Linked DNA regions of Homo sapiens: regions 2, 3 and 4 are each linked to region 1. Evidence: promoter capture Hi-C in human tissues and cell types (Jung and others, 2019). All regions are on one chromosome and are shown on one strand. Each heading gives the region's core, a stretch centred on a gene start or on the middle of the fragment in contact. The rest is flanking DNA. Distances are from core to core; before and after follow the strand shown.

Region 1 (2,927 bases), core at 209-2,708:
ATCAGTTATAATCTGTTGCTGTTGTTATTGCAAAGATGTTGCCAAGGATAAAAGCCCATGCAGATGCTTCGGGTTTGGGCAATCTTATTCCTGCGCACTGCTTCCCCAGACCCCTAAGCTTCCCCCTCCATTTCTCACAATTCCATTCAGGGCTCAGAGCAGGTGACTGCAGCGATTTGGTTCCAATAAAATCGAAAGTAAACGTCTCCTGTGAAAAGTCCCGGGCTGTAAATTAGAAATGTTTATGCTGATTTCCCATTGTATGGAAAAAGCTCCTGGGCGAAACAGCTTTGAGCCCGAGAACGATTTAAAAAGCTGGAGCTGTGTACACAGCTCTGAGCGTTTGAAGTTGTTTAACCATTGTGTGACCAGAAAGAAGAGTGACGCGGCAGGAAGAAGAAGCCGGGTCTTGGGGAGAGCGGAGGCGGGTCAGGGTGGGCAAAGGCAGCCGATGCCAGGAATACAACCGCCCTTCGCGCCGTTCCAAACTAAGAGATGGCAGCGGTTTCCCAGCGCACTGCTGGAAGTGTGCTCCAGTAGACAGGGTGTGGGCAAGATGCGCGGGCAGACAGTCCGCACTCGCCACATGTGCTGGGGTGCGAGATCTAGATCTGCGCCATCTCGGCTTTCATTCCCCATTCCCTGTCTCTGTTCGTAACGCTCAGAGACTGTTTTTCCTCTTTTACATCCACGGCCCTGTCATTTGAAGGAAAGGGCTGGTTGGCCAGCATCTACCGAACAAAGACTGGGCGTCGTAGGCAGCACCAAAATTAAGACTATTTGAGAAACTTAGAGAAAACCGAGGGACAGCGATGGGTCTAGGGCTGGATAAGGAATAATGAGCCCTTCTCCTCCCTCCCCACAGACGCCTCCTTCACGCGGGAACCCGGTCCTCCTTCTTCCGACGCAGAGAGAGAAGCGATTCCACAGGTGGAAAATCTGAGACCGGCTGGAGGGAGGTTCGGGGGTGCACGGCACTGAGCTGACAGGGCTGACTGGAGACAGCATACTTTTGGGGTGTAAGGGCGATAATAGAAAGAAGGGGACCAGGACCAAGTGGACAGAGGATATGAGGGTGTGCGCCCATGGGGATCTGTAGAAGAGAGGCCGCGGGGGTGCAAAATCAGTAAGGTGAACGGGCTGATGGCCAATGCAAAGCCAAAGGGGAGTAAGAAATAAAGAGAAAGGAAAGAATATTAAATCGCGGGAGAATGAGAAAATAAACCCGCAAAAGGGAGAGGAGGGGGCGAGGGCGCCTGTTACGGCGTGGGTGGGGTTGACAAGAATAGAGTACATTATGCAGTTCATTTAGTTAACAAGTGAAATAATGAGGAAGCGTGCAGAGTGAATGCCAAGAGAAAAGGCACAAAAACCCTATTGAGAGGCCCCGGCCGCTCCTGGCGTAGTCCATCACATGGCAATAGTCCTATTTAAGCCGCGCCGCCGGCGCCTTTCAGCACCACTAGCGCTGGCCAGCACCCCGCGCTCTTTGGGCGGTGCCCACGGCAGCAGAGGCTACTGTTTCAGCCTAGGTCTCAGCCGCGCGTTCAGCCTCCTGGGCAGAGGCAGCTGCGGGATACCGCGGCCAGGGAAAGCGCGTGGAGAGCCGAAAGGTGCGGTGGGCGCAGAGGGCGGGCTGGCTGCGGGGCGACCGCGCGCCGGGGCCATGCCGCGCTCCTTCCTGGTGGACTCGCTAGTGCTGCGCGAGGCGGGCGAGAAGAAGGCGCCCGAGGGCAGCCCGCCGCCGCTCTTCCCCTACGCTGTGCCCCCGCCGCACGCGCTGCACGGTCTCTCGCCTGGCGCCTGCCACGCGCGCAAGGCTGGGCTGCTGTGCGTGTGCCCGCTCTGCGTCACCGCCTCGCAGCTGCATGGGCCCCCCGGGCCGCCCGCGCTGCCTCTACTCAAGGCTTCCTTCCCACCCTTCGGCTCGCAGTACTGCCACGCGCCCCTGGGCCGCCAGCACTCTGCTGTGTCGCCCGGGGTCGCTCACGGCCCGGCCGCCGCTGCTGCTGCCGCCGCGCTCTACCAGACCTCCTACCCGCTGCCTGACCCCAGGCAGTTCCACTGCATCTCTGTGGGTAAGCGGGGCCGCCGCGCAGAGGGACCGGGCAGAGGTGATCCGAAGCAGGATGGAGAGCCAGAGATGGAGGAAGAGGGACCCTGGGCTTTCTGGGGGCGGTGAGGGTCATGTCGGGGACTAAGGGGGGCGCTTGGGGTGGAGTGAGGATAGAGGGCCGGGACACAACGCCAGGAGGCGGATGAGGGCAGACGTCCAGGTCCTGGAGTGTGGGCCGGGGTAAGTGAGGGCTGGGATCCAAGGCTCTCCATGAAGGGGAAGGGGTTCCAGGGCTGCATGACTCCGGGAGAATCAGGATCTCGGAGCTGGACAAGGAGCGCTCACTGTAGCTCTGCTGTGGATTGTGTTGGGGCGAAGAGATGGGTAAGAGGTCAAAGTCGTAGGATTCTGGCGACCGCCTACCAAGGGATTGGGTCCACAGCACAGAGGTCTGATCGCTTCCTTCTCTGCTCTGCCACCTCCAGACAGCAGCTCTAACCAGCTGCCCAGCAGCAAGAGGATGCGCACGGCTTTCACCAGCACGCAGCTGCTAGAGCTGGAGCGCGAGTTCGCTTCTAATATGTACCTGTCCCGCCTACGTCGCATCGAGATCGCGACCTACCTGAATCTGTCCGAGAAGCAGGTGAAGATCTGGTTTCAGAACCGCCGAGTGAAGCACAAGAAGGAGGGCAAGGGCAGCAACCATCGTGGCGGCGGCGGCGGGGGTGCCGGTGGTGGCGGGAGCGCACCGCAAGGCTGCAAGTGCGCATCGCTCTCCTCAGCCAAGTGCTCCGAGGATGACGACGAATTGCCCATGTCTCCGTCCTCCTCAGGGAAGGACGACCGGGATCTTACGGTCACTCCCTAGGCG
Region 2 (2,831 bases), core at 74-2,573, 180 kb before region 1:
TCCTCTAGTTCAATTCAATTCTGACCTGGAGATAACCCCAGATCCCAAAGCTGAGGGCTCAGTCTCCAAGACCGCTCCCCTCTCCACCAGACACCAGTCGCAAGTGCAGGCCTCAGAAAATTCTAACTGACTGGCCTCAATTTGGGGTTCCCATAACCCCTCTTTGGGTTCAATTAACTTGCTAGAGCAGCTCACAGAACTCAGGGATACACTTACTTAGGTTTACCAGTTTATTATAAAAGATATTACAAAGGATATAGATGAAGAGATGCACAGGGCGAGGTACGGGGAAGGGGTGCGGAGCGTCCATGCCCTCTCTGGGGCGTGTTACCCTCCAGGAACCTCCATGTGATCAGCTGTCCAGAAGCTCTCTGAACCCTGTCCTCTTGGGCCTTTTATGAAGACTTCATAACATAGGTATGGTTGGTTAAATCATTGGCCATTGGTGATCAGCTTACCCTTCAGCTCCTCTGCCCTCCCTGGAGGGTGGTGGTGGGGCTGACAGTCCTAACCCTCTAATCCAGCCTTTCCAGTGCCCAGGGCCCATCCTGAAGCTACCTAGGGGCTGCCAGCTGTTCAGTCAACTCATCAGCATACAAAGACACTTAGCGCTTTGCAGATTCCAAGGAATTTGAGAGTTGTATGCCAGGAAACAGGGATAAAGACCATATATATATTTCACAACATCACAGAAGCTTAATCATAAGCCATCAATGTTGCAGTTCTTCTATATTCCTATAAGAACAGGGAACAGTTCAAGCTTCCTCACTGGATCAATTCTCTTTTGCTTTCCCTCTGACCAATGACTGTTTCAAAGATTTGGAGAAGTCTGTGAGCCAAGCCAGATCAAAGCCAATTTGGATCCAATTTGTTCATTAATGCATGCTGTCAACAAAAAGAGTCAAACTCTGCAACATATTTGAAGAGATTTATCGTGAGCCAAATCTGAGTGACCATGGCCCATGACACAGCCTTCAGGAGGTCCTAAGAACATGTGCCCAAGATGGTAGGGGTGCAGCTTGGTTTTATACATTTTAGGGAGGCATGAGACATCAATCAAAAAATTTTAAGAAATACATTGGTTTGGTCCAGAAAGGTGGGACAATTGCAGGGGGTCGGGGGTGGGGTGGGGGGTTGGGGGGGGTAGCAGGGAGTGCCATTCCAAGCCATAGGTAAATTTAAACATTTTCTGGTTGACAGTCGGTTGAGTTTGTCTAAAGCCCTGGGATCAACAGAAAGGAATGTCTGGGTTAAGACAAAGGATTGTGGAGACCCAAGTTCTTACTTTCAGAGGAAGCCTTCAGGTAGTAGGCTTCGATAGGTGGTAGTAAAACGTTTCTTATCGGACTTAAAGTCTATGTTAATGTTAATGTCAGAGAGGTATAACAAGTCATGTCCGACCTCCACTTCCCACTCATGGCCTGAAACTGTCTCTCAGGTTAAATTTTAAAAGACCCCTGGATGAGGAGGAAGTCCATTCAGATGGCTGGGGAGAGGGGGAAGCTTAGAATTTTATTTTTGGTTTACAATACATTAATATTTGTTTAAGTACTTAGGGATTCTGCAGTTAGCAAAATAGATAGGATCCCAGCTCTAGGAAGCACACATTCTAAAGGATAGAACCTACAACACCTGCTTCTTTAAAAGCATACTAACTAGAGGACAATTTATTATTGTAATGTCATGAGCACTTGCTTGTTAAAAAATTCCTTTTTTGAGATGGAGTCTAGCTCTATCACCCAGGCTGGAGCGCAGTGGCGCAATCTCAGCTCACTGAAACCTCTAGCTCCCGGGTTCAAGCGATTTCTCCTGCCTCAGCCTCCTGAGTAGCTGGGATTACAGGCACCTGCCACCACGCCCAGCTAATTTTCGTATTTTTAGTAGAGACAGGGTTTCACTGTGTTGGCCAGGCTGGTCTTGAACTCCTGACCTCGTGATCGCCCGCCTCAGCCTCCCAAAGTGCTAGAATTATAAGCGTGAGTCACTGCACCTGGCCAAAAAATTCCTCTTAATAACTTCTTAGAAGGCTAATACACAAAATAGCCACCTTTTCTGAATCCAACCAAACAAAATAACTTATTAACCACAGATTTTCCTACTGCTTTGTATTTTCTGAGGAAAAGAAACAGGTGCCAGGAAAGCTAAAAGGGATGTCTTTTGTAAGACTCTCAGGCCCTCCTACAGGGTCAATTTAGGTAGGCCTGCCCCAGTCTTCTAATTCTACATGCAAGATACATATGTATTACTTTTTCAAACAACACTGCTTCCTAAATAGAGGAGAACCTATGAAATGAGACCTGTGATTCTTTTTTAAAAACCTAGATGCATTTGGATAGAGGAAGGTGGGCCTGTGAACTCTAGCCCTGTAAGCAGGAAGGAAAGTTAAATAGTTCCTCATAATACAATTTAAAGATATCGGGTGGCAATTGTAAAGGAAAGAAAGAAGAGGGGAAGAAGGCCAAAGAGCCAACCAGATTACAAGAGCCTGGAGTCCTCCTTTCTTTGATGGTGGCCAAAATATATTTTAAGGATAGAAATGCCTAATATTCAATGTCAACACTTCTGATATCGCTCCACTGTGAACCCCTTCACCCTCCCCTTCCTCTAAATCTCTCATAAAGCTTACCATACTCATAAAGCCTTTCTGTGAACTCTTTTTCTTTTCTATTCTTTCCTAGCTCCTGTGAGACACAACTATCCAACAACTGCATCATGGATCTCTCAACCATCCATTTAGCACCTCCTTAGATTAGTCCAAAACTGAACTTATCTTCCCTTCTACACCTCTACCATCAATTGTTTTTAACTGCTCCTTCTCATATCCTCCAACA
Region 3 (2,945 bases), core at 394-2,893, 160 kb before region 1:
TCATATGGGGCTGCTACATGCCATGGCAGCTGGCTTCCTGCCAGAGCCAGGAAAACAGAGTTAGAGAGAACCCAAGACAGAAGCCAGTCTTTTTATGCCCTACTCTCAGAAGTGGCATTCCATTGCCTCTGCTCTATTCTGTTGGTTAGACATGAGTCAGTAAGTCCAGCCCACACTTGAGAGCGAGTACATGAGGGTCTGAATACCAGGAGGTGGGGATCCTTGGCACCATCTTAGCGGCTGCTTACCCATCCGCCTTCTCTAAAGTGGCATGCACACCCACATACAAACCTCCATCACTCTCTATTCCTTTACCTTGCTATATTCCTTCATAGTACTCATTGTCAACTGACATTATATTATATATTTATCTATTTATTGTCTAACTCCACTTGAAAAATATCTCCTTGGCGGCAAGGGCTTTGTCCTTGTTCGCTTCTGAACCCCAAGCACTTAAAACTGGGTCAGGCACACAGTAGGCTTTCATTAATGTTTCTTCAGAAAGTCAATGAATAATGTGCATGATTACATACCAGTGTCAGAGTATGAGTACCACAACAGGAAGAAGGACTGATGATTTATAATGACATTATTTTGTACACTTATCAGCTGACATTTGCAACTCAGAAAGCCACCACAGTAACAAGCTTCAAGAAGACAAAAAATTATTGAGTGGGACAAGGAACCATGCCTATCCTGTGGCTTCAGTGGGAGGAGGAGCTGAGGGGAGGCAGGAGTAAGCATCATAGAGAGCCTTGATAAAGGTGGTTATGCTTTATATTCTGTTTCATTTTTGTCTTCTCTGTGTCCTCAAGAGCCTCTAACACTACTATCTTCACCACCTTGATCCCATGCCTCATCTGTTGTCTTGTCTATTGGTTTAAAAAGGTAGAATATCTCCCACTTGAAGTTGATTGATGGATATTTTTACTTTGCAAGAGCAGTATGGGAGAGTGATATGAATTTTCCTTGGGATCTTATCCCCACAGAACTCTAGGAGGGAAAAAGTGGTAGGATTGTAGTTTTGAGTACCATGAAGTGGAATTGAAAGGATTTGATTCCAAGGTATGCTGTTTTTTCAATGCCGAATAGTACACTCATTTCCTAACCAGCTGTCTCGTAAATCTATGCCATTTACTACAAATAGCATTGCTTTGGAAAAATAACAGAATGCATGCATTTGTTTTTCCAGCAGCTATTTAAGGTCCATTTGTTTTCCAGGTACCAAGAAAGCAAAGACGAATCTCATTTCATGCCTACCTTCACAGAGTTTGCAATCCGACTAGACCAAAGAGCTGTGTAGTAAAGAACTGAAGGATAGGTGTCATTTCTTGTAACTCTTTTACCTCATTAAAATTGCAGCACCCCCCGCCCCCCAGCACTCCTACCTTGTATTTTTTCTATAGCACTTATCTTCTAACATATGAGATATATAATTTACCTTTTTATTATATTCATTATATATTGCCTTTCCCTCTACCCCTCAAACACACACACTGTAACATAAGCTCTGTGAGAGCAGAGATTTTTGTTTTAATGTTCACTGATGTATCCACAACCCCTGGAACAATGCCTGGCTCATAGCAGGTGTTCAAAAAATGTTTATCAAATGAATGAATAGCAGATTGACTCTGTATTGTTTTTACATTAAATACCCCAAGAGCTGAACTTGAATTTAAAAAGGGAAATAACTATTCTATAAGCTTCGAATTGAGAACCACAAATTTGTGGTTGTGTGTCTTCAACTCCATAGTTTGTCACATGTAGTTGGCAAGAGACTGGGCCTGTCCAGGAGGAGTCAGACCTAGAGGTTCATTTAGGCAAAGGGTGACCAGAGCAGGCAAAGATAGAGTGCCAGAGGAGTAGCCTATGCAGTAGGAACCAAGCAGATCTGATAGATATTGCCAGGTAGATGATTCCAGAGGGGTCACCTGAGCTAAGAAGAATTGGGCATGTTGTTTATACACACATAAGAAGGCAGGGCTTTGTATCTGCAAGGCCAAATTTGACTGCAACGCATCTCACATTAATGAGAACTGACCCCCGCCAAGGCCGACAATGTTGGTTTTGTGAGCACCTGTTCTACCCATATACCTACTGTGTGATTTTGGATTTGGGGAATTCCCAGACCGATAATATTTCAAAAAAATCTAATGGGGTGAAAGGATGTAGGATTGCTTAAGTTTTATTTTGCCCTTACTTTGTGAAATGGACTTTCCTTCACTTCCATGGAAAATTGCCAGAAATCCTAGTCTTTATTTAGGTGACCTGAAGCACTTGAAGGACAAAACAAAGACTTAAAGCATTCAATAATTTGATGTCTGTTGTGCCATTTTTATCATGTTTGCTCCACAATAAATTGAACAGACTCTTGCACTTTTCCCTTGGGTCCTCATGAGCATTTGTCTACAACTGTTAATAAGTTACATGGGATCTAAGAATAAATTTTCATTGGAATTCAGATTTCAAGTGAAGGATCACCCAACATTGCGATCCCTCATCTAACATTATTTCAGATCCTGAGTTGCTGCTTTGTTCTGCATACTTAAACATAAGTCCCGGAGCTTGGAATACTTAACAAGGGGTTTGTGTTGCTGTTGTTGTTTCCAAAAGTGATTAAAATTGGTAATATAAAATTAATATAAGCTTCATTTATCTCTTCATTCCCTGAAGATGAGGAGTAAGAGAGTACCATCATCATATTCTTGTCAAAGTAAATGAGTTGGATTTATATTCTTTATCAGACCTTGTAATTGAAGCCTTCTAGACTTGATTCTACAGTTTTATTTCTGCTTTTTGTTTATTGGTTTGTTTACATGGCAAAGACTGCAGTTTGTCCTTAAATGGATGGAAAATATTAGGGATTCCAGGGGCTTATGATTAGAAACTTATGATTAGTTTGTTTATATGGCAAAGATTGTACTTTGTCCTTAAATGGTTGGAAA
Region 4 (3,266 bases), core at 400-2,899, 220 kb before region 1:
CTTACTGCTTGAGTTGTGACATCTCATCTCCTGCCCTCAGACTGGGATCACTGGCTCTCCTAGTTCTCAGACCTTCTGACTGAGAAGGTCTGAATTATGCTACTGACTTCCCTGGGTTGCCAGCGTGCAGAGAGCAGAACGTGTAATTTTTCAGACTCCTTAATCATGTCAGCCAACTCCTCATATATTGGTTCTATTTCCTTACAGATCCCTGACTAATTCATTAGTGAAAATGAAGCTGGTATTCATTTAAAATAGACTGCTATAAACTAGGATGTTAATTGTAAGCCCCAGGGTAACCACTAAGAAAATAATTTTAATTAAGAGAAATGACACGGGAATTAAAATAGCATATTAAAAATATTTAACACAAATGGAAGAAATGGAGGAAAAAAGAAATAAGACATATAGAAACAAACAGCAAAATGGCAAATGTAAAGCCTACCTTATCAGTAATTACATTAAATTACATGAATGAAACATCCCAATAAAAAGTCAGTGACTGGCAGAATGGGCTACAAGAAACATAATCCAACTGTCTACAACAGACACACTTCAGATTCAAAGACATAAATAAAGCAAAAGACAGAAAAACATAACAAGATATGACAATTATAAACAGAAATTGTACCAAACAATGGCCCCAAAATACGTAAGTAAAAAATGACAAAGAGAGAAATAGACAAATCAACAATAAAGCTTTTGATACTCGACTTTCAATACTAACAGAACAACTAGACATGGAACCAGAAAATAGACCCTTTAACACTATAGACCAATTAGACCCAATAGACATATGGAGCACTCCATCCATTAACAGCAGAATTTACATTATTCCCAAGTACACACAGGACATTTTCCAAGACAGGCCATGTGCTAGGCCATTTTAAAAAAGGCCTCAAGGCTGGGCATGGTGGCTCACGCCTGTAATCCTAGCTCTTCGGGAGACCTAGGTGGAGGATCACCTGAGCTCAGGAGTTTGAGACAAGCCTGGTGCAATATGGCAAGACCCCGTCTCTACTAAAAGCACAAAAAAAAAAAAAATTAGTTGGGCATGGTGGAGTGCGCCTGTAGTCCCAGCTACTCGGATGCTGAGGCACAAGAGTCACTTGAACCCAGCAGGTGGAGGCTGCAGTGAGCCAAGATTGCACTGCTTCACTCTAGCCTGGGTGACAGAGCGAGATGCTATCTCCAGAAAAAAAAAAAGAAAAGAAAGGCCTCAATAAAATTTAAAGGATTGAACAATACACATTATGATTTCTCATTGCAATTAATTCCAAATGGATCAAAAACTGAATTATAAGAGAGAAAACTAGAAAACTCTTAGAAGAAAACGTACATGTAAATTTTTGTGACCTTGAATTGGGCAATGTTTTCTTAGATATGACACCAAAAGCATAAGCAAACAACAATGAACTTCATAAAAATTAGATATTTGTTCTTTAAAGGATGTAGGAAAGTGAAAAGACAACTGACAGAATGGGAGAAAATATATGCAAATCATATATCTGGTAAGGGTCTAGTATCCAGAATACATAGAAAATTCTTACAACTTAGCAAAAAGACAAATAATCCAATATAAAAATGAACTAATGATGTTGAGCATGTCATGTGCTTACTGGCCACTTGAGTATCTTTGGAGAACTATCTATTCAAATCCTTTGCCCATTTAAAATTGGATTTATCTTTTCATTTCTAAGAGTTCTTTATATATTCTGGATACTAGAATACACATGATTTGCAAATACATATATCTGCTTTTTCACACCATACATGAAAAAACAATACTGATAAGAATGTGCTAAACACAAACTTCCCTCCAAGTTAAAGTGTGAATTTAAAAGTGCAATCATGCCTCAGCCTATCCTGATCCCTTTTTTTTCTATTTAGTTTTTCCTGGACCATCATCTAAAGCAGGGTTGTCCAATCTTTTGGCTTCCCTGGGCCACACGGGAAGAAGAATAATTGTCTTGGTCCACACATAAAATACACTAACATCAATGATAGCTGATAAGCTTAAAAAAAAAATAATCCCAAAAGCCTTCCTGGGCTGCATGTGGCACAGGCTGAACAAACTTGAACTTAAGGTTTCATAACCATCTCATGAACAAGAAAAGTTCTCAGCAAGGAAAGAGGCTTCTTTAAAGGTTTTCTATTGTAAACTTTTTATAATGGCATTAAACTGTAATTTTTAAGAGGAAAAGTAATTCTGAACCTTGCCATAAACTAGGGCACAAACACACAATTTAAAAACAACAACAACAACTAGCACTTACAATTACCAAAGGCTTAAATGTTAAATCGTTAAGGGTGGGTTGGAGATGAGTGGTAGAGCGTAGGAGGAATGCTATATAGCTGATGTTGCTTGGCAGAATTTCAAAGAAACAATCAAAATGTTACATATTTAGTACAACATGTAGAATATTTTTCAAAGGCTTTATTTCTCTGTTCAAAGATAGAGACTGTCCATGTCTCTTAAAATTCTTCATTTCACTAATACATAATCAGTTAAAAATAGCAGTTTTATTTAAACATGTTCATCTTTCATAAATATTTTATCTGTAGGAGAAAAATGTTTGCTCTTCTCAAATCAAAACACATTTGTTAAGGGCAGGATTTCATTCAAATAGGAAGGTGATCTTAAATGTGAAATTATCAAATTTATGCAAACTACTGCTAATGCTCTATTTCTACCAATAATTAAGAGATTCCTGTAAACCCTAAAAGCTCAAGAGCAAAGGCACATGACAGCCATGCAACTTTTATACAATGACTCTTTGTTGCTGATGCTAAAATCTTATGAATTTCAATGAAACTTACAGACTTACCAATTTCTAACAAACAAGTGAGATTTGTATACCGAGAAGCCGCAAACAGTCGTAGTAATCATATTCTGCGCCGCATAACATCATTCTTCTTGCTAGTTTATGTTGGTTTTAGAACATGGCTGCAAATTTTTTTGACTTCCCATCACAAGGTGAAACCTATGTCCCCTTTTCCTTGGATATGGGTGGGTTTATGACTGCTTCCAACAGAGAAGGGATGCCAGGCAACTTCAAGGCTAGATCATATGAGGCCATGCAGCCTACTAGACACTGAACCACTTATGTAAGAACTTTAAATACCCTGAGGCTGTCATGCTGGGAAGGCTACCTGTAGCCTCTCCAGCTGACAAGTCCCACGCACCTAGTCATTCCCATCAAGGTGTCAGAAATGTGAATGAAGAAACCATCTTGGAAGTAGACTCTCCAGTTACAACTGTTGCA

Evidence for each region. The method cuts DNA at HindIII sites, captures the fragments that hold promoters and counts their contacts. A contact is called where the count stands out against the background at its distance.
Region 2: a fragment that was not itself captured here is called in contact with the fragment with the promoter of GSX1 in region 1 in 2 of the 25 tissues and cell types used here (mesenchymal stem cells and pancreas).
Region 3: a contact is called between a fragment that was not itself captured here and the fragment with the promoter of GSX1 in region 1, in 1 of the 25 tissues and cell types used here (aorta).
Region 4: a fragment that was not itself captured here is called in contact with the fragment with the promoter of GSX1 in region 1 in 4 of the 25 tissues and cell types used here (H1 embryonic stem cells, adrenal gland, heart left ventricle and 1 more).

The regions. Positions count from the first base shown.
Region 1 is chr13:27,791,025-27,793,951 of GRCh38, forward strand. GSX1 (GS homeobox 1) reads left to right here and starts at 1,459. Exons shown (of 2, transcript NM_145657.3): 1 at 1,459-2,078; 2 at 2,542-2,927. The coding sequence starts at 1,667. The coding sequence ends at 2,924. RefSeq lists an enhancer at 1,386-2,189. The HindIII fragment of the contact is 15,189 bases long and covers 1-2,927 here.
Region 2 is chr13:27,615,052-27,617,882 of GRCh38, forward strand. All of the region lies in intron 1 of LNX2 (ligand of numb-protein X 2), which reads right to left. Among named protein-coding and RNA genes, the nearest start is that of LNX2, 4.1 kb to the right of the region's middle. The HindIII fragment of the contact is 4,182 bases long and covers 1-2,831 here.
Region 3 is chr13:27,631,278-27,634,222 of GRCh38, forward strand. It overlaps a transcript of POLR1D not described here. Among named protein-coding and RNA genes, the nearest start is that of POLR1D, 11 kb to the left of the region's middle. The HindIII fragment of the contact is 4,158 bases long and covers 1-2,945 here.
Region 4 is chr13:27,575,533-27,578,798 of GRCh38, forward strand. All of the region lies in intron 2 of LNX2 (ligand of numb-protein X 2), which reads right to left. Among named protein-coding and RNA genes, the nearest start is that of LNX2, 43 kb to the right of the region's middle. The HindIII fragment of the contact is 3,423 bases long and covers 1-3,266 here.